Linked DNA regions of Homo sapiens: all the other regions are linked to region 1. The links are contacts of gene promoters, found by promoter capture Hi-C in blood cells and fetal thymus (Javierre and others, 2016). All regions are on one chromosome and are shown on one strand. The core of a region is centred on a gene start or on the middle of the fragment in contact, and the rest is flanking DNA. Distances in the headings are between cores, read along the strand shown. Region 1 holds the start of YKT6 (YKT6 vesicular SNARE protein). Region 2 has its middle 13 kb from the start of DDX56. Region 3 overlaps NPC1L1 (NPC1 like intracellular cholesterol transporter 1). Region 4 overlaps NUDCD3 (NudC domain containing 3).

Region 1 (6,823 bases), core at 1,640-4,139:
GCATCCTCAGGGAGCTGTGCCTCACTCATTCCTATCCATAGACTTGCCTTCTTTCAACAACGCAAGCAAAAAGAAGGGTTCATTTGGGTTGGTTCCAAGTCTTTGCTATTGTGAACAGTGCCACAATAAACATACGTGTGCATGTGTCCTTATAGCAGCATGATTTATAATCCTTTGGGTATATACCTAGTAATGGGATGGCTGGGTCAAATGGTATTTCCAGTTCTAGATCCCTGAGGAATCGCCACACTGACTTCCACAATGGTTGAACTAGTTTACAGTCCCACGAACAGTGTAAAAGTGTTCCTATTTCTCCACATCCTCTCCAGCACCTGTTGTTTCCTGACTTTTTAATGATCACCATTCTAACTGGTGTGAGATGGTATCTCATTGTGGTTTTGATTTGCATTTCTCTGATGGCCAGTGATGATGAGCATTTTTTCATGTGTTTTTTGGCTACATAAATGTCTTCTTTTGAGAAGTGTCTGTTCATATCCTTCGCCCATTTGTTGATGGGGTTGTTTGTTTTTTTCTTGTAAATTTGTTTGAGTTCATTGTAGATTCTGGATATTAGCCCTTTGTCAGATGAGTAGGTTGCAAAAATTTTCTCCCATTCTGTAGGTTGCCTGTTCACTCTGATGGTAGTTTCTTTTGCTGTGCAGAAGCTCTTTAGTTTAATTAGATCCCATTTGTCAATTTTGGCTTTTGTTGCCATTGCTTTTGGTGTTTTAGACATGAAGTCCTTGCCCATGCCTATGTCCTGAATGGTATTGCCTAGGTTTTCTTCTAGGGTTTTTATGGTTTTAGGTCTAACATGTAAGTCTTTAATCCATCTTGAATTAATTTTTGTATAAGGTGTAAGGAAGGGATCCAGTTTCAGCTTTCTACATATGGCTAGCCAGTTTTCCCAGCACCATTTATTAAATAGGGAATCCTTTCCCCATTGCTTGTTTTTGTCAGGTTTGTCAAAGATCAGATGCTTGTAGATATGCGGCATTATTTCTGAGGGCTCTGTTCTGTTCCATTGCTCTATATCTCTGTTTTGGTACCAGTAGCATGCTGTTTTGGTTACTGTAGCCTTGTAGTATAGTTAGAAGTCAGGTAGTGTGATGCCTCCAGCTTTGTTCTTTTGGCTTAGGATTGACTTGGCAATGCGGGCTCTTTTTTGGTTCCATATGAACTTTAGTTTTTTCCAATTCTGTGAAGAAAGTCATTGGTAGCTTGATAGGGATGGCATTGAATCTATAAATTACCTTGGGCAGTATGGCCATTTTCACGATACTGATTCTTCCTACCCATGAGCATGGAATGTTCTTCCATTTGTTTGTATCCTCTTTTATTTCATTGAGCAGTCGTTTGTAGTTCTCCTTGAAGAGGTCCTTCACATCCCTTGTAAGTTGGATTCCTAGGTATTTTATTCTCTTTGAAGCAATTGTGAATGGGAGTTCACTCATGATTTGGCTCTCTGTCTGTTATTGGTGTATAAGACTGCTTGTGATTTTTGCACATTGATTTTGTATCCTGAGACTTTGCTGAAGTTGCTTATCAGCTTAAGGAGATTTTGGGCTGAGACGATGGGGTTTTCTAGATATACAATCATGTCATCTGCAAACAGGGACAATTTGACTTCCTCTTTTCTTAATTGAATACCCTTTATTTCCTTCTCCTACCTGATTGCCCTGGCCAGAACTTCCAACACTATGTTGAAAAGGAGTGGTGAGAGAGGGCATCCCAGTCTTGTGCCAGTTTTCAAAGGGAATGCTTCCAGTTTTTGTCCATTCAGTATGATATTGGCTGTGGGTTTGTCATAGATAGCTCTTATTATTTTGAGATACGTCCCATCAATACCTAATTTATTGAGAGTTTTTAGCATGAGGGTTGTTGAATTTTGTCAAAGGCCTTTTCTGCATCTATTGAGATAATCATGTGGTTTTTGTCTTTGGTTCTGTTTATATGCTGGATTACGTTTACTGATTTTCGTATGTTGAACCAGCCTTGCATCCCAGGGATGAAGCCCACTTGATCATGGTGGATAAGCTTTTTGATGTGTTGCTGGATTCGGTTTGCCAGTATTTTACTGAGGATTTTTGCTTCAATGTTCATCAAGGATATTGGTCTAAAATTCTTTTTTTGTTGTGTCTCTCTCTGCCACCCTTTGGTATCAGGATGATGCTGGCCTCATAAAATGAGTTAGGGAGGATTCTCTCTTTTTCTTTTGATTGGAATAGTTTCAGAAGGAATGGTACAAGCTCCTCCTAAAATGTGGCACATATACACCATGGAATACTATGCAGCCATAAAAAATGATGAGTTCATGTCCTTTGTAGGGACATGGATGAAGCTGGAAACCATCATTCTCAGCAAACTATTGCAAGGACAAAAAACCAAACACCGCATGTTCTCACTCATAGGTGGGAATTGAACAATAAGAACACATGGACACAGGAAGGCGAACATCACACACCGGGGACTGTTGTGGGGTGGGGGGAGGGGGGAGGGATAGCATTAGGAGATATACTTAATGCTAAATGACGAGTTAATGGGTGCAGCACACCAACATGGCACATGTATACATATGTAACAAACCTGCACGTTGTGCACATGTACCCTAAAACTTAAAGTATAATAATAAAAAAAATGCTTACTTTAAAAAAAGAAAGAAAAGAAAAAAAAAAAAAAGAAGGGTTCAGGCCGCTGTGGGAGGCCCAGCACCACCCAGCACAAGACAGTACGGTATCCCGCCGCGCGCCCGACTCCACCTGGCGAGCAGGGAGGGGCCAAGCTTACGCGAGGCGTGGCATCCCGCCCCTCGCTGCATTGTACTTCCGGGCTCACATTTCTGCATCCGGAGTATGAGAACCCTCAACCAGGCTGACCGGATCCGGAAGTGGATTGCGAGCCAGGAGGAGGAAGCCGGCGGTGGCCCCGTCAGCAGCCGGCTGCTGAGAGGCCGGTAGGCGGCGGCGGTCCCGAGGGGCGGCGGCCGCGCTGCTCCCTGAGAACGGGTCCCGCAGCTGGGCAGGCGGGCGGCCTGAGGGCGCGGAGCCATGAAGCTGTACAGCCTCAGCGTCCTCTACAAAGGCGAGGCCAAGGTGGTGCTGCTCAAAGCCGCATACGATGTGTCTTCCTTCAGCTTTTTCCAGAGATCCAGGTGAGCGGCACAGGCTGGTGGGCCGTGGCGGTCGGGCGGAGAGGACTGGGGTGGGGGTCCGAGTCGGAGTGGGCCTGGGGTCGGCGGAGGGATGAGGGGAGGGTGGAGGAGGCCAAGGGTAGGGGCAGGGCGGGGTGGCCGAGTGCCCGGGGTCTGAGAAGGCTGGTGTCCGAGTCAGAGGCGGGGCGGGGTGGGGAGGGCCCGGGGTCTGCTGTCCGGGCTTGGTCTCCTATAATGGAATCTGGCCGTGGACTCTACCTTTGAGGAACCAACATTAGCTCTTTAAGAGCTTATACCATTCTAGAATATAGTTCTCTACTCAGTGTTTTTCAAATTTCTGTCGTGTAAAAATTTTAAGGAGACTGTGAAGTAGTGCAGATTTCCAAGCTTCATGCCAAGATGTTCTGAATTAGTAGATTGAGGCCTCGGTATTTATATTTTAGACCAACACTTCCCACCCAGTGATTCTGACTCTGGGAGCTTGGGTGCCGCATCTTGAGAGCCATATTTTGATTTTCTTGCGGGGCTTCCCAACAATTCTGTATGAGAGATAGTGATATACTTTTTTTTGTTTGTTTTTAATGGGTGAAGTCACTGAGGTACCAAGAGGTTATATCACAACCAGCTAGAACTGAAAGCCAGGTTTAACGCTTTTTAGTTGGACACTAGTGGTACAAAAGGATTCCACACGGAAGATGCAAATGAAGCATGGGATCTGTAGGGCTTACAGGCTTTTACTTGTTTCTGGGGCGCTTTAATTGCTGGAACGTGTTAGAAGTAACACAGACACTTCCAGACCATTCGTGGGAGGGATTGGGGTGACTCAGGCACGAAAGAAGGAGGACCCTACATGGTCGGTATCTATGGTCATCTTGTCTCAAAATCTGATGGAATCTGCCGTTTGGATTCTGTTTTCCCTGCTTCAGTGCAGCTGGTTCTTGATGAGAGTTCTTTGCCAAGGACTTGCTGGATGTAAAAAAAAAAAAATGTTATTTTGTTGAAACTTTCTGCTTCTTTGAGTTCTTTTAAAAAAATATTTTTAATTGTGGTAAAATGGTACACAAAATTTATCTTCACTATCTTTAAGCGTGTAGTGAGTGCATTGATATGAAATAGATTGATAGTGTTGTGCAGCCATCACTGTCAATCGTCTCCAGAACTCCTTTTTATCAAATTCGTGTCTATTAAACACATTCCCTTCTCCCCCAGCCCATGGCAACTGCCATTCTAATTTGTCTCTGTGATTTTGACTTTTCTGGCGACCTTAGATAAATGGAATCATATAGTTTTTGTGTGTCTGGCTTATTTCATGTAGCATAATGTCCTCAAGGCTCATGCATCTTGTTGCATATATCAGAATTTCTTTCCTTTTTAAGGCTGAATAATCCATTGTATTATTCACCACATTTTGCTTATCTGTTCATCTGTCAGTGGACACCTGGGTTGCTTCCACATTTCAGCCATTGTGAATGATACTGCTATGAACATGGATGTACAAATATCTCTTCAAGACCCTGCTCGCATTTTTTTGGTATTTACCCAGAAGCGGAATTGCTGCATTATCTTTTAGCTCCTTCTTGGGGTTCTTGGTCTTTGCAGTCTTTACCATGGCCTACATTCACTGCTCTGTGTTGTTGCTTTTCTCAGATGGAACTTTTGGTGCCAACTTGGCTCTGATTCTTTTTCCTTTTTCCTTCCCATTAGTACTTAAGATTCTCAGAGATTTCACTTGTAGGACTTATACCTCACCTGCTTGGGATGCCCACACTAGTTTCCAATGACTAACAGCTGCAACACTAAAGGGACATCTCTACTAATATGTCTTAAAACAACACATGTCCCAGCTGATTTATTTATTTATTTATTTTATTTTAGATGGAGTCTTGCTCTGTCACCCAGGCTGGAGTGCAGTGGCACAGTGTCAGCTCACTGCAACCTCCGCCTCCTGGGTTCAAGTGATTCTCCTGCCTCAGCCTCCCAAGTAGCTGGGATTACAGGCGCGCACCACCACACCCGGCTAATTTTTGTATTTTTAGTAGAGATGGGGTTTTACCATGTTAGCCAGGCTGGTCTCGAACTCCTGAGCTCAAGTGATCCGCCTGCCTTGGCCTCCCAAAGTGCTAGGATTACAGGCTTGAGCCACCACGTCCGGCCTGAGCTTGTTTTCTTATAAGACCGCTTTACTTACGTCCTTTGTGCCCTATAATTACCCGATTCCAAAGTTGAAAAAGTAGTTTCCCAGCTTTTTTGGTCTTTGTATACATGCTGTCACAATGCAGTTCTTCCTTTGTCTCTTTATAGCCGTGTCTCAAATGCTGTCTCTAGGTTTACTGCAAAGCCTTCCTTGTTTGAGGTCTTCTTTTCTGAGGGGTTATTTTGATCACTTCAGTCCCTCAAGATATTAACAAGTAATACTGTGTGTGCAGGCATTGTTCCAAGTGCTTTACACGTATTACCTCGTTTAACTGTTGCACAAATCTTGATTTTTTTAATGTGGAGGCACAGCACACAGGCCCAGAGTCAGGCCTTCAGTTACCTATATGGCTCTGCTGGAGCCTGCTGCAGACTCCCATTTGAGCACCCTGCTTTGATGGCCCTGGTTGCCCTTTATATCACATCCTCAGTTGGAGGCTCCTTGTCAGCACCTCTTCCTCTGGCTGTACCATCTCCTGTGACTGTTCTGTTCTGGATAGATCTCTCTGTTGAGCCCATGATGGACCTTCTCCCTTTCACCCTTTGTATGAGCCATTTCCCACTTCTTTGTCTTGGATGAGCAGTTTTCCTTTTGTTCCATCCAGAGTGTCTTGCGCTCGTTCTGTGGACGAGCCCCAGCAGACCTGAGCCAGCACTCACTATGGGTGTATGTGGCATTGCGAGGGTCTGTCATGTGGACACAGCCATAAATGGTTGTGCATTTCTGCCTGACAGTTTTTGCACACTATTCTTCTAGTGCAGTTCTTATAAATGTCCTGCTTCTTGGAAGTTATTGGGACCTTGAGAGCAGGACCTGCCTCTTGTTTTTCCATTGCATTCCAAATTATGCATTCACCAAAATGTAAAATTGACTGTATCCTGTGGAAAAACCCCCCAGAAAATTCACCTGTTTTGGTGAGCCAGGTAGCAAACAGATGGAGCTTTCATGGTGATGATAATTCATAATTATCAGTATTTGTGCTCATTTATAGAGTGTTTGTTACTAGGGATGGGAGGGAAAGGAATGAAACCAAGAAGCAATGTCTACTTAATGTATAAGCCCAGAGGTCACTTTCCACTGTGTTGGGGACAAGGTGATAAGAAGTAGGCAATAAATACATTTTGTGTTTCTTAGCGTTCAGGAATTCATGACCTTCACGAGTCAACTGATTGTGGAGCGCTCATCGAAAGGCACTAGAGCTTCTGTCAAAGAACAAGGTAAGAAGACCCTCCAACTTCTGTGCGTGTGCTGGCCTGGCTGCCATGCCTCACCTCACATAGCACCCAGCTTTCTCCTTTCTACTGGGACCCTACTCCTCCTCTAGCTTGTTCTCTCTTTCCCACCTCTTCCTTTTCCTATTTATGCAGAATTCTGTGCCCACTGTTGAAGTCTGAGCTTCCCAGATAAAATTGCCCTCAAACTTAGACTCATTTAAGATTAGGGTCTGACTCTTTTGGAGCAGTAAGCAGCCTTCATAT
Region 2 (6,823 bases), core at 2,909-5,408, 360 kb after region 1:
CACATGTCTTTTTTTATGTCTGAATAGTATTCCATGACATATATGTACATTTTCTTTATCCAATCTGTCATTGATGGGCATTTAGGTTGATTCCATGTCTTTACTATTGTGAATAGTGCTGCAATGAACAGACGTGTGCATGTGTCCTTATGGCAGAACAACTTACATTCCTTTGGGTATATACCCAGTAATGGGATTGCTGGGTCGAATGGTAGTTCTGCCTTTAGGTCTCTGAGGAATTGCCACGCTGCTTTCCACAATGGTTGACCTAATTTACACTCCCACCAACACTGTACAAGTGTTCCCTTTTCTCTATGACCTTGCCAGCATGTTATTTTTTCTTTTTTTTACTTTTTAATAATAGCCATTCTGGCTGATGTGAGATGGTATCTCATTGTGGTTTTGATTTCTGTTTCTTTAATGATCAGTGATATTGAGTTTTTTTTCAAATGTTTGTTGGTTGCATGTATGTCTTCTTTCGAAAAGTGTCTAGGAATGAGATACTGTCACCACTTCTATTCAACATAGTGTTAAAAGTTCTAACCAGAGCAATTTGGCAAAAATGAAATGAAAAGAAAAGAGAAAAGAGAGAAAGAGAGAGAGAGAAAGAGAGGGAGAGAGGGAGGGAGGGAAAAGGGAAGGGGAAGGGAAAGGGGAAGGGGAGGGAGGAAGGAAAAGAGTGTCCAAATTAGAAAAAAATTAAACTTATCTCTATTTGCAGATAGATTTTATATTCTAAAACAGTAAATACGCCACTGAAAATGTATTATAACTTGTCTGAGTGTGGTGGAGCATGCCTATAATCCCAGCACTTTGGGAGACTGAGGCAGGACAATCACTTGAGCCCAGGAGTTTAAGACCAGCCTGGGCAACAACGTGAGACCCCATCTCTACAAAAAATAAAATAATTAGCCAGGCATGCTGGCATGCCTGTAGTCCCAGCTATTCAGGAGGCTGAGGCAGGAGGACTGTTTGAGTCCTGGCAATGGAGACTGCAGTGAGCTATAACCGTGCCACTGCACTCCAGCCTAGACAACAGGGTGAGACCCTATCTTGAAAATTTTTTTTAATAAAAAAAATTACTAGAACTAATAAATGAACTTGGCAAAATTATAGGATACAAAATCAATACACAAAAATCAGATGCATTTCCTTCCTTCCTTTCCTTTCCCTCCCTCCCTCCCTCTCTCTCTCTCTCTCTTTTTCTTTCTTTTCTTCTTTCTTTCTTCCTATCTGTCTTTTTTCTTTTTGAGACAGGGTCTCACTTTTTCACCCAGGCTGGAGTGCAGTGACACGATCATCACTAACTGCAGCCTTGACCTCCCAGGCTCAAGCAGTTCTCCCACCGTAGCCTTCGGAGTAGCTAGGAGGGACTACAGGTGCTCATCACCATGCCTAGCTAATCTTCCCCCTCCCTCCTTCTCCTCCCCCCTCCCCCCTCCCCCCTCCCCTCCCCTCCCCTCTCCTTTCCTTTCCTTGACAGGGTCTTGATCTGTCGCCCAGGCTGGAGTGCAATGGCGTGACTCAGCTCACTGCAACTTACGCCTCCCCAGTTCTAAGTGATTCCCTTGCCTCAGCCTCCCGAGTAAGTAGAATTACAGGTGTGCCACCATGCCCAGCTAATTTTATATTTTTAGTAGAGACAGGGTTTCACCATGTTGGCCAGGCTGGTCTCGAACTCCTGACCTCAGGTGATCCACCCGCCTTAGCCTCCCAAAGTGCTGGGATTACAGGCGTGAGCCACTGCACCCAGCCCCTGGCTAATTTTTTTAATTTTTATTTTTAGAGATGGCATTTCACTGTGTTGCCCAGGCTGGTCTTGAACTCCTGGCCTCAAGTGATCCTCACTCTTCAGCCTCCTGAATTGCTGGGATTATAAGTGAGGGCCACCATGCCTGACTTTAGCACCACTTATCTTGACACATGAAAAAGATAAACCATTCTGTTCCCACTGTTCCTGCCATCTGGTGGTCTCTTACTTGCAGCTGTATACACTCCTAACTGATGTACCTGTAATTCCCTGCTGTCCACCACCTGACTATTAGCACCCCTTCTCCTACTGTTGCCCCACAGCAGAGTCCTCAACCTCAACACTACGGACATTTTCAACCACAGAACTCTCTTGTGGGGGCTGCCTTGTACATTGCATGATTTTAACAGTATCCCCGGCCTCTTCCCACCTAAAGCCAGTAGCATCCATTGCCCAGATATGATAACCTAAAATGTTTCTTGGCTGGCACAGTGGCTCACACCTGTAATCCCAGCACTTTGGGAGGCTGAGGCGGGCAGATCACTTGAGGTTAGGAGTTCATGACCAGCCTGGCCAACATGGTGAAACCCCATCTCCTAAAAATACAAAGATTAGCTGGGTGTGGTGGCACATGCCTGTAGTCCCAACTACTTGGCAGGCTGAGGCAGGAGAATCACTTGAACCCGGGAGGTGGATGGAGGTTGTAGTGAGCCAAGAACACACCACTGCACTCCAGCCTGGGCAACGGAGCAAGACTCTGTCTCAAAAAAAAAAAAACAACAATATTTCTATACTTTCCCAAAAGCCCCACTGGGGCAAATCTGGCCAAGAACCACCACCCTGCAGGAAGCCTGTGCTAAGCCAACTAATCTGCTCCCTCCACCCAGCTCTGCTATAACCAAGCCAAGCCTGTCTCTCAGGCTTCTCCGGGCCTTCCCAACGCCTGCGCATACAATCTCCTTGGCAGTGAGGATTTCTACCACCACCCAGGCCTGAGTGGTCTCTCCCTCCTCTGGCCATGATAGCAGGGGTTGGCTGTCTCCCTTGGCACTTGGCCTAACCATCACTGCATTCATGCATTTTGCTTCTAAAAGCTGAGGTCCTGGTTCCCGGGGCGGGGGCCATACCTCCTACACCAAGAATCCTTGAACCTATAGGGGTCCAATTTGTACATTTCGGTGATTGTATTAGGTACTTCGCTTCACGAATACAGCTGCAGTCAGGACCCGTTGCTGTCAAAGCCATAGACTCAGGACTGTGTGACCCTCCATCTCCCCACTGCTGGAACAGCCACAAGCAGTTCAGGAGCCTGGTCCCCCAGCCCACTGCTGAGGAGAAGGGCGTGTTGGTCCATGGAGGGGATGAGGCAGGCTGAATCTATAAAGGGTCGGGGGGTCCCAAGTACTTCCTGAGGGCTCCCTGAATGGGAGGATGGGCAGCTCTGCCCTGACTGTTGCTCCCAGCATCCCAGCTGCAGGTTCTGATGGAAGAGGGTCTTAGCCTGGGCAGGGCTAAGATGGTGAAGCCAGACCACTAGCAGGGGTAGCCACCAGAAATGGAGATCACATGTCAAGGCTGAGGGGAGGCAAGGTCTGGGGACTGGCCCTACATGCTTACTCTCTACTGTACAAGCATCAGTTGCTTCTCACATTCGTCCCAGCCCTGCAAGCTGATGGGTAGCCTTCATCCTGGACCCTTTGTCTTCTGTGATGGTCCCCCTCAACACAAAACTGCATTTTCTAACCTTGAACCAACAAGTTGTACAGTGAGCTGTGGGGAACAAAAGGGGCCATGAGAGGGGCCTGAAGCAGGGTCTCCCAGATGGGAGCAGGCATGGGCCCCTGCCTACTACGCCTGATACCCCTGGCCTTGACAAACATGAGACCCGTGGAGGACGAGGATGAGGGCTTCCTGTCTGAGCCCTGAGTCATGGAGGTGACACAGAGGGAGGGTCCTGCCTGCTGCACGGGGGGCACAGAGTCCAGCTCCATGCGGTGCTATTCCTACCACATCCTTCCCTCTGCTTTTAACTGGAATTAGTCCTCAAGAGCCTCAGGCAGTAGAAAGGTTGTGAAAAGAGAATTACCTCCGGGGCATTAAGGATACTCTCAGGGAAAAGCTTTTAATGAACCACTGGACTCAGGAACACACAGATATGCAACTTGGCATGGTCCTTGCCTCCGAAGAGCTCCCACATCAAGGTGGGGACAGGCCCCAGCAATTAGAGCTTCATGAGGTCAGAGCAGCATCAGACACACAGAGGAGGATGCCCAGCCCAGGCTGGCGCTCAGGAAGACTTCCTGGAGGAGGCCACGCGTGGGTCAGAGAGGTCTCACAACCTAGGGTTGCACATTTAGCAAATAAAAAGCAGGATGCCCAGCTATACTGGAATTTCAGAGAAACAGTGAATATCTGTTTTAGCATATGTCCCAAATATTGGACAGGACACGGTTATGCTGTAAAATTCCTCATTATTTGAAATTCCAATCTAGCTAGACATCTCCTACTTTACCTGGCCTCCCACGTCACCATGACTTTCGGATTAAGTGTTGGGCTCAGAGAAGGGATGTGACAGGGAAGTTTCATATCCAGGACTTGAACCTAGGTATCCCACCTCCAATTCCAGACTAGAGTCTGACAGACACAGCACCTCCCCTCTACCACTTAGCCAAGTGACATTGGGCTGGCTAGTTAATCTAAGCTTTTGCCAATCTGCAAAATAAATGTGTGTGGTGGATATTAAAGCCTTGCCTCTCAAATGTGGACTAGAGACCAGCACCTTTGGGCTCACCTGGGACGGAGGTGAGAACTCAAATGCAGAACCCCAGGCTGTGCCCTAGACGTATTCTCGTGGAAGTATGGAGACACGTCCCAGAAGGCAATGGTGGATTCAACAGGCATTGGGAGGTGCTAGCACAGAGCTGGGCTGCAACAGGCGTGCCAGGTGCCTGAGCCACTTCGGCCCCTACAGGAACCCTTGGAGGGGACATTTTACCCCCACTTACAGGTGAGAACCTAGAGAAGGCCAAGAAAAGTGACATGCCTTCCCTGTATGAGACCATACAGTCAGAAAGTGGCCATCATGGTCTGACCTGGCCACTGTGCCCACAGAGCACCTGGGACATTGAGGCGAGCCACAGCAGGATGCTGCGTGGTGGAGGCAACCCTTGGGGTGTTCGTCGGAAGACCCCCTTGATGTGCCTTGTTCTTTAGCCCACTGTTGCCACAGATACCCTCAGTGCATTCTACGCCAAACCTACTGCATCTCAGCAGGTTTGCGGATAGGCTGGAGGGATAACAAGACACTGGATGCATTGAGTTCTGAAAGCATTTCAGGATAAATAAACTAAATACTGTGCATTTGCCCAGTGTCATGCCTGGCACAGAGCAGGTCTGCTTGGCCAAGGCACCTTCCTCTCTGCAATGATGAACCACTCCTTCCCTTCCTTACCCTTGTAAACATGGCTGTGAGGAATGGAAGAGCAGCAACTCACAGCCTGTTCCACAAGGCAGGAGTCTTACATAATGATGTTCCTGGGGAAAAGGATGACAGCTGACGGGGCACCTTCCCTGCTCAAATTCAACTTTATCACCATTGCCTCTTGGGGCCCCGCCCCTGAAGTCCAAAGTCTCACAACTAATTCCCCCAAAGCTGAGTCATTCATCCTTAGCAGATGCAGGCAGAGAATCCGCTGGGCTGGGAATGCACCCTGAGCCTTTTGTGCTCCAGGTCCAGAGGTTTCTGGGCACACCACTGTCCTCCCATCTGCTATCACCAGCTATATCATCAGAATGCTGTTGGCCGGGTGTGGTGGCTCACGCCTGTAATCCCAGAACTTTGGGAGGCCGAGGCGGGTGGATTACCCGAGGTCAGGAGTTCATCCTGGCCAACATGGTGAAATCCCATCTCCACAAAGATACAAAAATTAGCCAGGCATGATGGTGGGTGCCTGTAATCCCAGCTACTCAGGAGGCTGAGGCGGGAGAATCGCTTGAACCCAGGAGGCGGAGGTTGTACTGGGCCGAGATGGCGCCACTGCACTCTAGCCTGGGTGACAGAACAAGACTCCATCTCAAAAAAAAAAAAAAAAAAAAGAAAGAAAAAAAAAAAGAATGCCCTTGTTTTCAAAAACCCTCCATCTTCTGTATCCTTTGAATTTTTAATATGTGACTATTACATTTTTTTAAAAAATCAAATTTTCAGCCCCCATTGCATATTTTGGTAACAACCCTCTGGTCTTTTCACCCTCAAATGTGCAGGGATCCCTCCCACCCCAGGGAATTTGCACATGCTGTCTCCCCTGCTAGGATTGCTGTTCCCTCCCACCCTTCCCATCTCAGCATAAACCTCACTTTCTCAAGGAAGGCAGCATTCTCTCCAACTGGGTGAGGGCCCCTTATAGCCCTCCAGTACCCTGAACTCCCAACATGACTATTGAGCAGTCTGCATTGGCTGACCATCTCTGCTCCTTGCCTCATAGACTGTGCCTTGTCCATCTGATTCCAGACCATAGCACAGTCCACACAGCCAGGCACCCATTCAGGTATACATGTGGGCAAAACTGTGCCAGCCCAGAGTGGAGAGGCCACTGCATTCTCCTGACCTTCCTGCTTCAGCCCAGGGCGTCACCAGCCTGAAAACCATCCAAGCTTCTCTGCTGTTTAGTGAAGCCTTAGGCTTCCACGCAGCATGTGCCACACCTCCTTCCTCCCTTCCAGGCCCACATGCCCTCTGTGCTGTTTGGCCCTGGACAGCCCTAGGTTCATTTGCCCATAGCACACATACCCTCATCCAAGGCCTGCCCCAGTCCTGATTTGCACATTTGTGCAAAGGGCACAGGCTTTGGCCAGACTAAGTCCAAGAGGCCAACCCTGAGTGCCTGTTTGTTCACACGTAAATGGGCACATGGTACCTGCCTCCCAGGTGGGGTGTTGAACGAGCCATTTATACTTACTTTCTCTCTGTAGTCTCAGGACACGAAGATGGACCTTCCTGTTCTTTATTTTTTAAAGATAGAGTCTCACGGCCAGGCATGGTGGCTCACGCCTGTAATCCCAGCACTTTGGGAGGCC
Region 3 (6,823 bases), core at 2,020-4,519, 320 kb after region 1:
GCGTTTCTTCTTTTTCTTTCTTTCTTTCTTTTTCTTCCTTCCTTCCTTCCTTCTTTCTTTCTTTCTCTTTCTCTCTCTTTCTCTCTCTCTCTTTCTCCCTTTCTTTCTTTTCTTTTCTTTTCTTTCCTTTTCTTCTCTCTTCTTTTCTTTCAATATCTGGCTTTTTTGCCCAGGCTGGTCTCAGACAGACTAGACTCCTGGGCTCAAGTGATCCTCCCACCTTGGCCTCCCAACGTACTGGGATTATAGGCGTGAGCTGCAGCACCTAGCTGGAACTTCATTTTGAACAATTTCCAGGTTATGCTGATGCTGCTGGCTGGGGGACCTCATTTTGGGAAGTGCTGCTCTAGACTAACCTAGTGCACACACAAGAAGACAAAGGTCAGAGATGGTGCAGACTTGCCCCCGGTTATGGGGGCTTGGCTCTACTGTGTGCTCCTTCCAGGCCCTGCTCCTCATTCCCTGACTGACACATCCACTCCCATCTGTCCACACCAGCCCCACCACACTGGCCTCACAGAGCCTGTTGTGCTCAGCTACCAGGGCTGGGCAGGGTGCATTGCCCTTCTGGAAACATGGGAACTTCATAGCTGGAAGGGTGGGGTGAGCGAACTTGAGGCAGCTTTCAGCCAGCAGTTCAAACTATGAATTATTTCAGTACAAAGTGAGATCATCCTTCAAAAACTCCCCCACCCACCGACGACCCCCATGTCCATCTCCAGCACGAGCTCCCTTAGGGCCCCTACACCGAGCATGTCTGCACGGAGCTATGGCCAGCTCCTTTACACAGATGGCTGTCTTGTTCTGCCATCTGCTGTATAAGCTGACAGCATGTTGTGGGTCCTTTTCCTGTCAGTCCAACTGCATCTCTCTTGTTACTTTTTTCTTTCTTTTTTTTTTTGAGAGAGGGTCTCACTTTGTTGCCCAGGCTGGAGTGCAGTGTTGCGATCACAGTTCACTACAGCCTCAACCTCCCAGACTCAGGCATTCTTCCCGCCCAGCCTTCTGAATAGCTGGAACTACAGGCACACGCCACCACACCCGGGCAATTTTTTAAATTTTACTTTGTAGAGGAGGCCGGGCACAGTGGCTCATGCCTGTAATACTAGCACTTTGGGAGGCCAAGGCAGGCATATCACCTGAGGTCAGGAGTTTGAGACCAGCTTGGCCAACGTGGTGCAATTCCATCTCTGCTGAAAATACAAAAATTACCCAGACATGATGGTATGCTCCTATAGTCCCAGCTACTCAGGAGGCTGAGGCAGGAGAATCGCTTGAACCCGGAAAGTGGAGGTTGCAGTGAGCCGAGATTGCACCACTGCACTCCAGCCTGGGCAACAAAGCGAGACTCCGTCTCGAAAAAAAAAAAAGAGGGTCTCCCTACTGTTGCCTGGGCTGGTCTCAAACTCCTGGATTCAAGAGATCCTCTCGCCTTGGCCTCCTAGAGTGCTAAGATTACAGGCGCCCAGCCTCTTGTTACTTTAAATGACTGCTAGGATTGTGCTGTGCCAAGCATCCTAATTCATTTAACCAGCTGCCCTTTGGGTGTAATTTGTGCTGGTAAGAAAGGTGCTTAGCCAGGGTGTGGAGAACTCCCAAGTATGGTATCAACTGCTGAATCAATTCCACAAACTTAGCACTGACCATGGACTTGGGAGTGAGAGAAGGGGTGAAGTCTGAGATGTGGAGCTGGGAAACAAGACCCCTGCTGACAGGGCCAGCGCAGTGAGAACCTCCTGACAAAGGAGGGAGACAACATGTGACAGGCTGTTCCCTGGGGTTTTCGGGGGCCCTCCAGAGCAACCGATTTATGTCCTCCCCTCCAGGCAAGGCCATGCTTACCTAAAACCTGGCCATCTGAAGTCAAGTTCACAGAGGTGCTGTATGCTGCCAGGCCGCTGCAAGAAGGTCAGGGCAAAGGCTTAGCCAGGGACGAAGCTTCTTTCATCTGCCCAGCCCACAGCCACCCCAGAGAGGCCCCTGATAGCCTCCTCCTGCCTCTCTATATTCAACCCCATCCTGTGTCCCACATGTCTGTCCTCCCCAGCAGAAGGCCCTCCCAAGCTTACCCTTTGGGACATTTGATGTTGGGCCGGTCGTTCAGGAACCAGGGAAGATACTTATGGAACTGCTCCACCGAGGGCCTCACAGAGCCCATCGTGATGCTCATGCAGTTCTTTAGGCAGTTCAGAGAGTCTGCAGAGAAAGCAGGGGTCTGGGCAGTGACACCCCAGGGCCAGCAGCTCCTGCTTTGTGCCCCTCCTTCCCCAACAATCCCATCAAAGGTCCTGGGCACTCCAGCCTCAACCAGTCGCTTCTAGGGGGATTTGCATTTGTCATTTGTGGGAGAAGTTCTCCTCTTGGCTATAGAAACTGTGGGCACCTACAGGCAGAAGGGGAAAGGAAGTTTGGGGCAGAAAAACAGGCCCCACAAAGGCCTCTCCACCTACAAATGCCACTGCTTTGGGCGGCAGGGCCATGTGCTAACCTCAGCAGCTCTCCCCTCCTGACTCCCCACTGCCCTGCCACCCGGGAGCACCATGTGCTCTGAAAATGGGGGCACAGTACACAGCAGTATACATGTGTGATGCCCACGGGCCAGCACGGTCACCCACACAGGTGCTTCTCACAGAGTGCCTGTCCCTCAGGCCACATCTGCACCCATGCCCCCGACAGACCCTGCAGGATGCGTGGGAGAGGTTGAGGGAGCCTCTCCAGTCCTCTCCTTTCTGTTGCCTCAGTTTGCCCGAGCTGTGGTGGACAGTGAGTCCCCATGGCCCCACACTCACTGACGGTCGAGGGGCAGAACTTGTCCTTATTGGGGCCAGATATATAAAGGCGGCAGCAGGAGGACGGGGTCAGCCAGTCAATGAAGTCATCCACCCAGGAGGAGGCAGGGATGGCCAGGTAAGACCTAAGGGGCAGGTGGGAGGAAGGGTGAAAAGGCCAGCTGGGCAGGGTGGTGGGTCCTTCTCGTGGCCCAACCCCCACGCAGCCCTCCCCAGGCATACGGCAGCAAGGCAGCAGGGCAGCAGGACAGGGATAGAACATCAGGAAGAGGGGACTGGAGAGGACTGGAGGGACTCAAACAGGGAGTAGGCTGGGGTTTGGGGCGGGCCAGGAACTCACTGCTCAGGGAACTCTGTGGCATACTGGATCTTCTGGGTGAAGGAGAAGTTGTTGCAGCCTGCACTGGAGCAGATGGCATTCATCCCAGCCTCGCTGGAGAAGTTGTAGCCCAAGGTGGTAACAAAGTACACCGGGGCCCCCACCTCGAAGTAGCGGTTCAGAAAGAGGAAATAGTCAAGCAGGTACGAGTCCTAGGAGTGGAGGAGGGTCAGTGAGCTTTGGTTCGCTATGCACACCCCTAAAGGGCTCAATCCAGCTCACACTCTCGAAGGTACACACAGAGGTACATGCTAAAAGGCACATGTTCAGAGGTCCATGATCAGAGGAACACACAGAGGAACATGTTCAGAGACACACATGCAGTTACACACTCAAAGGGATGTGCTCAGTGGGACACTCAGAGATATACACGTAGATACATGCTTAGAGGTACACAGAGGTACATGCACACAAGTACACAAAATATACACAGAGATGTACATGCTCAGAGGTCACACACAAGGTACATATAGAGAAGGACATGCACAGACACACACACTCAGGGGTACCCTCAAGATGTATGTGCACTGTACAGTTACACCGGAACACAGTTTTAGGTGTACCCCCAGATGAACATACTCCAAGGTTCACAGAATAGGTATAATCACAGGTGCAAACAGAAGTACACTTATGCAGGTACAAACACAGAGCAACACCTATCACCTCACATGAACACACACTGACACACACAAACATGCACAGACACATAATTGTACCCCTTCCTATCACCCCCAATATGGCACAGCCACCGTCTAACAAGCTGGCCTGTGACAACGGCCCATATTTGTGTGCACATATAAATGTCAGTGTGCACACCCTCAAAGCCATGCACCAGGCATCCTCATGGTCTGCTCCCTTCTATAACATAAAGGCTCAGAGTGACATTAGGGAAAATGGCACAGTAGGAAGTGTCAGGAATCCCTCTCCCCAGCTAGACAACAATTTGTCTGGTATAACTATTTTGTTTTTGTTTTGTTTTGTTTTGTTTTGAGATGGATGGAGTCTTCTGGGCTGGAGTGCAGTGGCGCGATCTCTGCTCACTGCAACCTCCGCCTCCTGGGTTCAAGCGATTCTTGTGCCTCAGCCTCCTGAGTAGCTAGGATTACAGGCATGTGCCACCGCTCCCAGCTGATTTTTGTATTTTTAAAAGAGATGGGGTTTCACCATGTTGGCCAGGCTTGTCTCAAACTCCTGACCTCAAGTGATCCACCCGTCTCGGCCTCCCAAATGGCTGGGATTACAGGCATGAGCCACCACACCGGCCCTAGTGTAACGATTTTGGAACTCTGGAGTCTATTGAGGGCTGGAAGCTTCCAGGATAAGGCTTGGACAGTAAATTGTGGTTAATTTCAGGCAATCTCAGCTTTAGTACAGTAGCAGCTACCCATTTGCCACTCCCAGCCTCAAGGCATGCAGCTGTGTATGCTTTCCAGAAGCAGCTTGTACACAGCTTGCAGGAGCCAGGTAGGCAAGGACACCATCCACCAAATATCAGCTGGGCATGATGGCTTACACTTGTAATTTCAGAACTTTGGGAGGGCAAGCAGGAGGGTCACTTGAGCCCAAGAGTGGGAGACCGATCTGGGCACATAGCGACACCCTGTCTCTACAAAAAAAAATACAAAAGTTAGCTGGGTGTGGTGGCACATGCCTGTAGTCCTAGCTACTCAGGAGGCTGAAATAGGAGAATCATTTGAGCCTGGAAGTTTGCTGCTGCAGTGACCTATGATTGCACCACTGCACTTCAGCCTCAGCAAGAGAGCCAGACCCTGTCTCTAATAAATAAATAAATAAGTTCAAATATCAAGGATCTGAGTTCTGATAATTGATCATTACTTCTGATATTGGTGGTACAGATACACAGGCAGGCAGCCACTAATGCAACTCCCACCACCGTTGTTGCAACCACCTCCACATCTTACTAAAGTGACTTCCAGGAGATTTAAAGAGTAAGCACCTATCCCCGACACCTTCATTTTTCCCTTTTTCTCCTTTTGGGAACCATACATATAAGGACAAGGACATTCAAAAGCAACCATAAATATAGGGATATTTAGACAGTCACCACACTGCATAAATGCTCAGAGAAAAATGCAGTCTCAAAAATACCTGAGAAGACATTAACTCTGTGCCTTTGGCTGATCCCCAGCACAGAAACACCAACAGCAATAAATAAAATAAAGCAAGCCCTGGGAAAGAAGGAGAATCTGATCTCCAGAGCTACCACATTATAAGAATCAAATGTCCATTTTTCAACCAAAAACACACCAAGAAAAAGAAAAACATGGCCCATTCAAAGGGAAAATATTAACCAACAGAAACTGTTCCTGGGTAAGACCAGACAGCAGACTTACTAGACAAAGACTTCAAAACAATTGTCTCAGCCAGGCACAGTGGCTGATGCCTGTAATCCCACAACATCAGAAGGCCAAGGCAGGCAGATCACATGAGGCCAGGAGTTCGAGACCAGCCTGGCTAATATGGTGAAACCCTGTCTCTACTAAAAATACAAAAATTAGCCAAGCATGGTGGCAGGCACCTGTAATCCCAGCTACTTGGGAGGCTGAGGCTTAACCCCAGGAGGCAGAGGTTGCAGTGACCCGAGATCACACCATTGCACTCCAGCCTGGGTGATAGAGCAAGACTCTGTCTCAAAAAATAAATAAATAAATAATAAAATAAATGAATAAAACAATTGCCTTAAAGTTGCTCAAAGAGCTAAAAGAAAACAAAGTCAAGGAAAAATTTATGAACAAAATGGAAATATCAATGAGGAGGAAACATAAAAAAGAGCAAAAAAACTCTGGAGCTAAAAAGTACAGTAACTTAAATGAAAAATTCACTAGAGGGATTCAAAAGCAGTCAGAAGAAAGAATTAGCAAACTGAAGATAAGACCATTGAAATTACTGAGTCTGAAGAAGAGAAAGGAAAAAAAATAACGAAAGTGAACAGAGCAGAGCCTAAGGGACCTGTCAGACATCATCATCATCAAATAGACCAAAATATGAATTGTAAGAATTCCAGAAGAAAAGAGAAAGGGGAAGTGAGATTATTTGAAAAAATTATGGCCAGAACTCCCCAAATTTGATGAAAGACATGAATATAAACATTCAAGAAACTCAATAAACTCCAATAGGATAAACTAAAGAAACCCACACCAACGGATATTATAATTTTTTTTTTTTGAGATGGAGTCTTGCTCTGTTGCCAGGCTGGAGTGCAGTGGCACAATCTCGGCTCACTGCAACCTCTGCCTCCTGGGTTCAAGTGATTCTCCTGCCTCAGCCTCCCAAGTATCTTGGACTACAAGTGCGCACAACCATGCCCAGCTAATTTTTGTATTTTTAGTAGAGATGGGGTTTCACCATGTTGGCCAGGATGGTCTTGATCTCTTGACCTTGTGATCCACCCACCTTGGCCTCCCAAAGTGCTGGGATTACAGGCATAAGCCACTGCACCCAGCTGGATATTATAATTTAGCTGTCAAAAACCAAAGACAAGCCAGGCATGGTGGCATATACCTGTAGTCCCAGCTACTCAAGAGGCTGAGGTGGGAGGATTGCTTGAGCCCAGGGTTTCAAGTCCATTCTAGGCAACATAGCAAGACCCTGCCTCTAAAAAATAAAAATAAAAAGTAAAATAAAATAAGTTTTT
Region 4 (6,823 bases), core at 1,299-3,798, 270 kb after region 1:
AAATAAATAAAAGGTGAGCCCAAGAACAATTGTTATCTCTGGGAGAATACTGGGCTTGAGGGATGATCAAAGGGGTCTTGAGTTTTATCTATTTACAAAAGGAATGTATTTTTACTAAATAAAAAAAAAATCAACGGACATTTTCAAAGAAATATATTTTCTGGATGAAATGGGAATTTAGTACTTCTACAACTTCACAAGCAGTATGAGGGACCAAAAGAATCATTTCCTGGCCGGGCACAGTGGCTCACGCCTGTGATCCCAGCACTTTGGGAGGCTGCGGCAGGTGGATCATCTGAGGTTAGGAGTTCGAGACCAGCCTGACCAATATGGTGAAACCCCGTCTCTACTAAAAATACAAAAATTAGCCAGGCGTGGTGGTGCACGCCTGTAGTCCCAGCTACTTGGGAGGCTGAGACAGGAGAATTGCTTGAACCCGAGAGGAAGAGGTTGCAGTGAGCCAAGATCATGCCACTGCACTCCAGCCTGGGTTAAAGAGCAAGACCCCATCTCAAAAAAAAAAAAAAAAGAAAAAGAAAACGAAGCAAGAATCGTTTCCCAAATTAACTTCCTCCAAATAACAGTCCCTCAAAGTGACAGCAGGCCAACTAGAAAGAAAAAGAGCGCCACAGTCCCATTAATTTGAGTTAAATTACGTTTTTTTCATTTCACGGCCTCTGGGTTAGAACACAATATAGCACAGACAAATCATACACCCATGTCTCAGAAAACATCAGGCAGAGAAATGTACCTTGACTAGATCAACAATTTTTTTTTTTTGGTGGAGTCTTGCTGTGTCACCCAGTGCAATGGCACAATCTCGGCTCATTGCAACCTCCACCTCTCAGACTCAAGCAATCCTCCCACCTCAGCCTCCTGAGTAACTGGGATTACAGGCATGTACCACCAAACCCAGCTAATTTTTGTATTTTTAGTAGAGACAGGGTTTCACCACATTGGCCAGGCTGGTCTCGAGCTCTTGGCCTCAAGTAATCTGCCCGCCTTGGCCTCCCAAAGGGCTAGGATTACAGGTGTGAGACACCATGCCCGGCCCACCAAATCTTTACATAAGCTTCAATTTTTTCTTATTCTATGGACCAATACCCTTTTAGAAGGAGCGTTATCCCCATTCCAGCTTTTAGATTAAGACACCCAACAATACTGGCATTTAGTACAGAATCTCAACCCTCTTTTCCTTATTCTAAATTCCCTCCTCTTACAGTGCCAAAAACAATAACCCACATCCATCCCAGGGGCCGAGCCGAGGGCAGGGCTCAGGGAAGTGGCAGGGGAGCAGAAGGGCCCAAACGAAGGTGTAAACAGAAGCTGACACATGTGCTCTGCTCCACCTCAGCAGCACCAGTTCAAACACCTATGCTTTGCTCTCCGCCCTGTGCCCTAGACCCCACACGAGCATGGGACATCCCCAGGACATTTCCAGAGAGCATTTTAAATTTCCTTAATCTTAATGTTTTTTACATGTATTTTCTAATTTTCCTCTATATTACTATAAAGAAACTTTTAGTGATTTTAAAAATCTCACAGTCATCTCACATCATTCTCCCGTAATTCCACCAGAAATGAGGCTGAGAGAATACAGACAGCCACAGCACAGTTCACACAGTAAAACATCAACACCTTAAGGCCTGTCCACATGAAGTGGGAAACTTCTGAACAGCCGTTAGAGAACACAGCAGACACCCACTGAGACTGATGTGGATGAGCAGTGTATACAGCCACTATCATCTGTGGAAAGGTTAAAACTGAAAAAGTAGAGAATGTGGGACATTAATCGTGGAGGCCATGGGCACAGGGAGAACTCTCTGCACTTCCTGCTCAATTTTGCTGTGAACCTAAAGTCAGTCTAAAAATAAACTGTATTAACCAAAAAAGAAAAAAGTAAGAAGACAGGCATAGATAAGTATGCTTGTATTTTCATAGACTATCTCCTGACCGGTACACCAGACACTGGTAACAGCAGCCACTTAGGGTAGAGTGGATAAACACAGTCACCTCACTGTGTAGAGCAGAACAGAGCCACAGACAGGGCCGTGAGTGAGAAGACCACCAAAGTTCTACTATACACCCCACCGTACTTCTCAAATTGTTTTTGATATATGCATACAGCATTTTTCAAAACACCAGTTAAAAAAAATAAAGAAAAACTTTTACGGAAAAATAGGAAGTTCCAGGGTAAAAGGGGTGCAAGAGAGTCAAATCTAAATAAAAGCTAGAGCAGCAAAATCACAGATGCTTGGCCCCAAAGATACAAAGCTGACCTCGTGAATGCATACTTTTGGGAAAGAAATGACCAGTGAACCCAGGACCATGGAAGCCTGGGTGGCACAGCCACCCAACATGAGACATCTCAGTGGTATAAGCCAGATGCTTGCTGCCAGGAGCCAGCACTGCACCAATGTAAAGCTCACAATGGCCCCTAGAAGCAGGGACAGCCACCCAGGGCCAACTTGAGAAGGAAAAAAGCTAAAAAACAAGGAAAAAGTTGAAGAATCCTCATCCCATCCCCTGAGCCACCCTAAATTGGAAAATACTCAGCAGACACAAAAAGCCTCTCAAGAGGACACTGCCAACCCACTCGGGCAAGGGATCATACCCATATGCCCTGAACACTTCTGGGGCCACCATGCCTGGTTTCCTTTCTTACTCAGAACTCAGGGAGGTATGTACATGGGGTTTATTGCTTGTTTTCCTTGGAGAGAGAAACAGTTTTCTGTTTTTCTTACTTAAGACCCAGTACAGTCAGCAGGGCCCCAAAGGCCTCAGGAAGGAGGCTGCTAGTCACCACACCAATCTGTGAAGTGCTCATCCTGCCAGCCACTCTGGTACCAGGCTCAGCCATGTGGTTCTGGGCTCAGCCATGCTGCCTTCAAAAATTAGGGGAAACAAAAGGTCTGGAAGTTTGTTCTCCTAGGAGAACTTGAGCATCCAAAGTGACATTTCTCCTGCTTTATTCAGCTTTTCACTAGGGACACTTGGATAATGCTAAGTGTTTTCTAGGTCACAGCTAGTCCTACCTACCCACTTATTGGGAAGCTCTAGCAGCAGCAGAATAGAAAGCTCTGGGTGAGCCTGCAAAGCAGGAGGCATGCTAGTGGGCAGGAGGGAGAAAGTGTGCAAACACCCCCGCTTCCCATGAATCACTAGGTCACAAAGCCCCACCGGGTGAGGGAACGTGTGACCCACTCAGACTGCTGTTTCAGACTCTGCTATGAGGGTCATGGGAAGAGAGCACTGGCCCTCCTTGGGAGAAGATTCTGGTCCAAATCTATGGTGTGGCTCAGCTATCAGCAGTGAAGATTGAGGGGCACTGACTGGTTTCTTTCCCCACATTCACCCTCACCAGCCCCCCGTGGTGAAGAAGGTTGGGTGTCACTTCCTCCAACCTCTGCAGGGCAGAGTGTGCTGCTATTACAGGGCCTGCTGAACCAGCATCTCACCCCTACTGAAGAATGGGTCAATAAAGATAGAAAAGTTATGACAGAAAAGGAGGGAAGGAAGGAGAGTCCCTTCCAATGGTCCTCACAATAATACCACCCACAGAGATCGGTGTGAAATTTTGCTTTCAGAAGTAGAATGTGCCCAGACAGAATCAGAACTGCTCATTTAACATGGGAACGGCGAAGCGCCCACTCCAAGACTTCTGCTAGTGGGTGGCCAGAAAGAAGCCATCCTCTCTCCCTTCCTGACTCAAATTGTACAACTGCTCAAAGGAAGAAAAAGAAGCCAGAGGTTCCTCTGCATCAGCCAGAGGCCAATCACCCTGATCCAGGCTGCCAAGTTAGAACCCAAGCTCCCAGATCAAGGGACAAGTCAGAGGTGGAGCTCTTTGATCAAGGGGCAGGTCAGAGATCAAGGTCCCCATTGAGGCCCGGCAGGGACGAGGCAAAAGACTGGGGCAGGCTGGCAATCTTAAACCCCATTTGCCCCAAGCCCCTAAAAAAAAAAAGTATTCCATAAATACTTGCTGAATCCAAGAACCAAACCTAGTACTTAGCTTATACTGAAAGCTTTAATTATACTATCTCATTTAATCCTTACAACAGCCCTTTAATTGTTATCACCCTATTGTATATAAGAAAAAAACTAAGACCTCAGTAAAAAAAAAAAAAAGAAAAGAAAAGGCTCTCTTCCTCGGCGCTGCCTACGGAGGTGGCAGCCATCTCCTCCTCGGCATCATGGCCGCCCTCAGACCCCTTGTGAAGCCCAAGATCGTCAAAAAGAGAACCAAGAAGTTCATCCAGCACCAGTCAGACCAATATGTCAAAATTAAGCGTAACTGGCGGAAACCCAGAGGCACTGACAACAGGGTTCGTAGAAGATTCAAGGGCCAGATCTTGATGCCCAACATTGGTTATGGGAGCAACAAAAAAACAAAGCACATGCTGCCCAGTGGCTTCCGGAAGTTCCTGGTCCACAACATCAAGGAGCTGGAAGTGCTGCTGATGTGCAACAAATCTTACTGTGCCGAGATCGCTCACAATGTTTCCTCCAAGAACCGCAAAGCCATCGTGGAAACAGCTGCCCAACTGGCCATCAGAGTCACCAACCCCAATGCCAGGCTGCGCAGCGAAGAAAATGAGTAGACAGCTCGTGTGCACGTTTTCTGTTTAAATAAATGTAAAAACTGCAAAAAAAAAAAAAAAAAAAAAGAAAAGAAAACTAAGGCCCAGGGAGACGAAAGAATTTGTTTGTTCAATGCCAGACAGCTTATCAGTGTCAGAGCTAGCAACTGAATGCCCGGTCTCTAGACTCCAAGATTCATACTCTTATTCCATAACATAATTTTTTTAAAAGGGGGAAAAAGACTAGAATCAGGAAGTAAAAAGATAAATGTAACAGTTTCAGAGATTAAAGGAGCAAACCACAAGGCAAGAGACAGGTATCCTCCTTGCTCATCCACTGGGAGAGTCTAGAAGCCTGACACCACAGCACCAACTAACACAGCAGGCCCAGCTCTTGGCTTGTAATCTCAATCTCTTATCAAAACCCAAGGACTTCTTGGAGAAAGGGTCCATTCCACAGCCAGGGCAGGAGAAGAATTCAAACCTGGAACTTCCTGTAGTGTACAAGAAAATAAAGAAGTGCTCGAAAAATGATGCAAACATGTTAACAGGAAAAGTCAACTGCAAGAGGCCACTTGAGCAATTAAACAATAGTAATGGACCATAACCTATGGAATAACTATCCATGAATACACACTGACATACACCAAGAACTAATAAATAAGTAGAGGAGAAAGAAAAGCTCTTCCTTACAGCATGTGAAACTTACAGTCCTTACAGTCCATTTGTTTTGGACTGAGCTCCTGCATAAGGCCCCAGCACACCAGACCAAACCAGAATAGAGACAATCAAAATGAACTTTAAAAAGGGCCAGTTTTCAAACAAACAAACCAAAAAAAAAAAAAAAAAAAAAAAAAACAGGAGATTTCAGTCAACTTGAGTCAGCAGGTAAGGAAGACCCCTTACCTGTTTCAACCCTATGAGGAAGTGACTTTGAAACGACCCATCTGCTTTTTGTTCTCTGTGTCTGCTTTTCTCAGCCCTTTTCTGCCTATAAAACCTACCTCCTTTGGTCAGCTCATGGGAATACTCATTCTATTTTACAGAATGAGATGTTGCCCAATTCTAGAAACACAAATGCCAACTAGATCTTTAAACTAAATTTGTTATAATTTTGTCTTTTGACAAGTATAATTCTAAATAATAAATGGAGAGAGAATGATAAAAATAGAAAATCATTTAGCAAACAGTACAGTAATAATTGTTTCAGGCAAGAATAATCAGTGGTTGCTAAGATTAATGGTAAAGGTATGCTGAGAAACAAGATATTTATCTAGTCTCAAAGTTATCTCCCCACAAGATACTTATTAATTACAAAAAGGAACACAGTAACTCCACAGTGGAAGAAATGTGCAGCCATCCATTCAGCCAAATGATCACAGTTATGATCACAATTAACATCAGAAGGAATGGGACAAATCCTGGCATGACACACTAAGGGCCCACCATGGTATTCTTCTGTGGCATTCTTGCCAAAAACATATAACACGAATACAGTCATAAGGAAGCATCAGACAAAACTATAATGAGGGACATTCCACGAAAAAAAAAAATGGCAATGAAGGAAAAAAAAAAGGACCAGTTCTCTTTAACTGTCAAGGTCATGAAAAGACTAAGAAACTGTCACTGTCCCAGATAAAGGAGACTGAAGAGAGACACAACCACGAATACAATGACAATAACAAATTGAACCCTGAGCCAAGGATAAAGGACATGATTCAACAGGCAGAATTTAAACAAGGTCTACAGATGAGCTAATGGTAATCCCTCATTATAAAAGACTCTAACATTTGGTGAAGCTGGGTGAAGAGCATATGTGAGAATTCTTCGCATGACTTCTGCAATTTTTTTTGGTAGATATGAATTATCTAAAATTCAAAGATTTTTTTAAAAGACCAAAAAATAAACAGACATTAACAGTTATATGAGAGAGAGAATATGCTAGTCTTTGGTTAGCTAAGAACACTGACTCCATACCACAGCAGCCAGCAGCCAGACCACAGATCTGACCCTCACTCTTCAGAATCCCACAGCTGCTATTTTAAAGACCAGATAACAGGCTCCAAATCTGATTTCTCAGCTCACAGAACTCACAGCCAAGTCATTTGAGATGACTTATTCCAGAGGGTCTCAAAGCAAATCCTATAGGACAGAGCTGCCTACACGCCCAGGCTCGGTTTAAGGTCCCCCCAATGTTAGCCTCTCACTCAGATGCTGCTTCCACAGCAAATTCCTTGGCT

The links. Contacts are between HindIII fragments. The CHiCAGO score rates a contact against its expected background, and 5 or more counts as called.
Region 2: a contact is called between a fragment that was not itself captured here and the fragment with the promoter of YKT6 in region 1, in 9 of 17 cell types (endothelial precursors, M0 macrophages, total CD8 T cells and 6 more). The highest score is 9.7, in endothelial precursors.
Region 3: a fragment that was not itself captured here is called in contact with the fragment with the promoter of YKT6 in region 1 in 1 of 17 cell types (M1 macrophages); the score reaches 5.6 in M1 macrophages.
Region 4: a contact is called between a fragment that was not itself captured here and the fragment with the promoter of YKT6 in region 1, in 11 of 17 cell types (M1 macrophages, M0 macrophages, fetal thymus and 8 more). The highest score is 8.4, in M1 macrophages.

Annotation. Positions count from the first base shown.
Region 1 is chr7:44,198,089-44,204,911 of GRCh38, forward strand. It overlaps YKT6 (YKT6 vesicular SNARE protein), which reads left to right and starts at 2,890. Exons shown (of 7, transcript NM_006555.4): 1 at 2,890-3,151; 2 at 6,480-6,562. The coding sequence starts at 3,048. RefSeq lists a silencer at 2,997-3,066. The HindIII fragment of the contact is 756 bases long and covers 2,781-3,536 here.
Region 2 is chr7:44,557,030-44,563,852 of GRCh38, forward strand. No RefSeq gene overlaps it. Among named protein-coding and RNA genes, the nearest start is that of DDX56, 13 kb to the right of the region's middle. RefSeq lists an enhancer at 4,328-5,222. The HindIII fragment of the contact is 582 bases long and covers 3,868-4,449 here.
Region 3 is chr7:44,518,923-44,525,745 of GRCh38, forward strand. It overlaps NPC1L1 (NPC1 like intracellular cholesterol transporter 1), which reads right to left. Exons shown (of 19, transcript NM_001101648.2): 11 at 3,130-3,320; 12 at 2,790-2,914; 13 at 2,070-2,196; 14 at 1,843-1,898. Among named protein-coding and RNA genes, the nearest start is that of NPC1L1, 19 kb to the right of the region's middle. The HindIII fragment of the contact is 2,414 bases long and covers 2,063-4,476 here.
Region 4 is chr7:44,463,701-44,470,523 of GRCh38, forward strand. The region is part of intron 2 of NUDCD3 (NudC domain containing 3); the gene reads right to left. It also overlaps the pseudogene RPL32P18. Among named protein-coding and RNA genes, the nearest start is that of NUDCD3, 24 kb to the right of the region's middle. The HindIII fragment of the contact is 2,956 bases long and covers 1,071-4,026 here.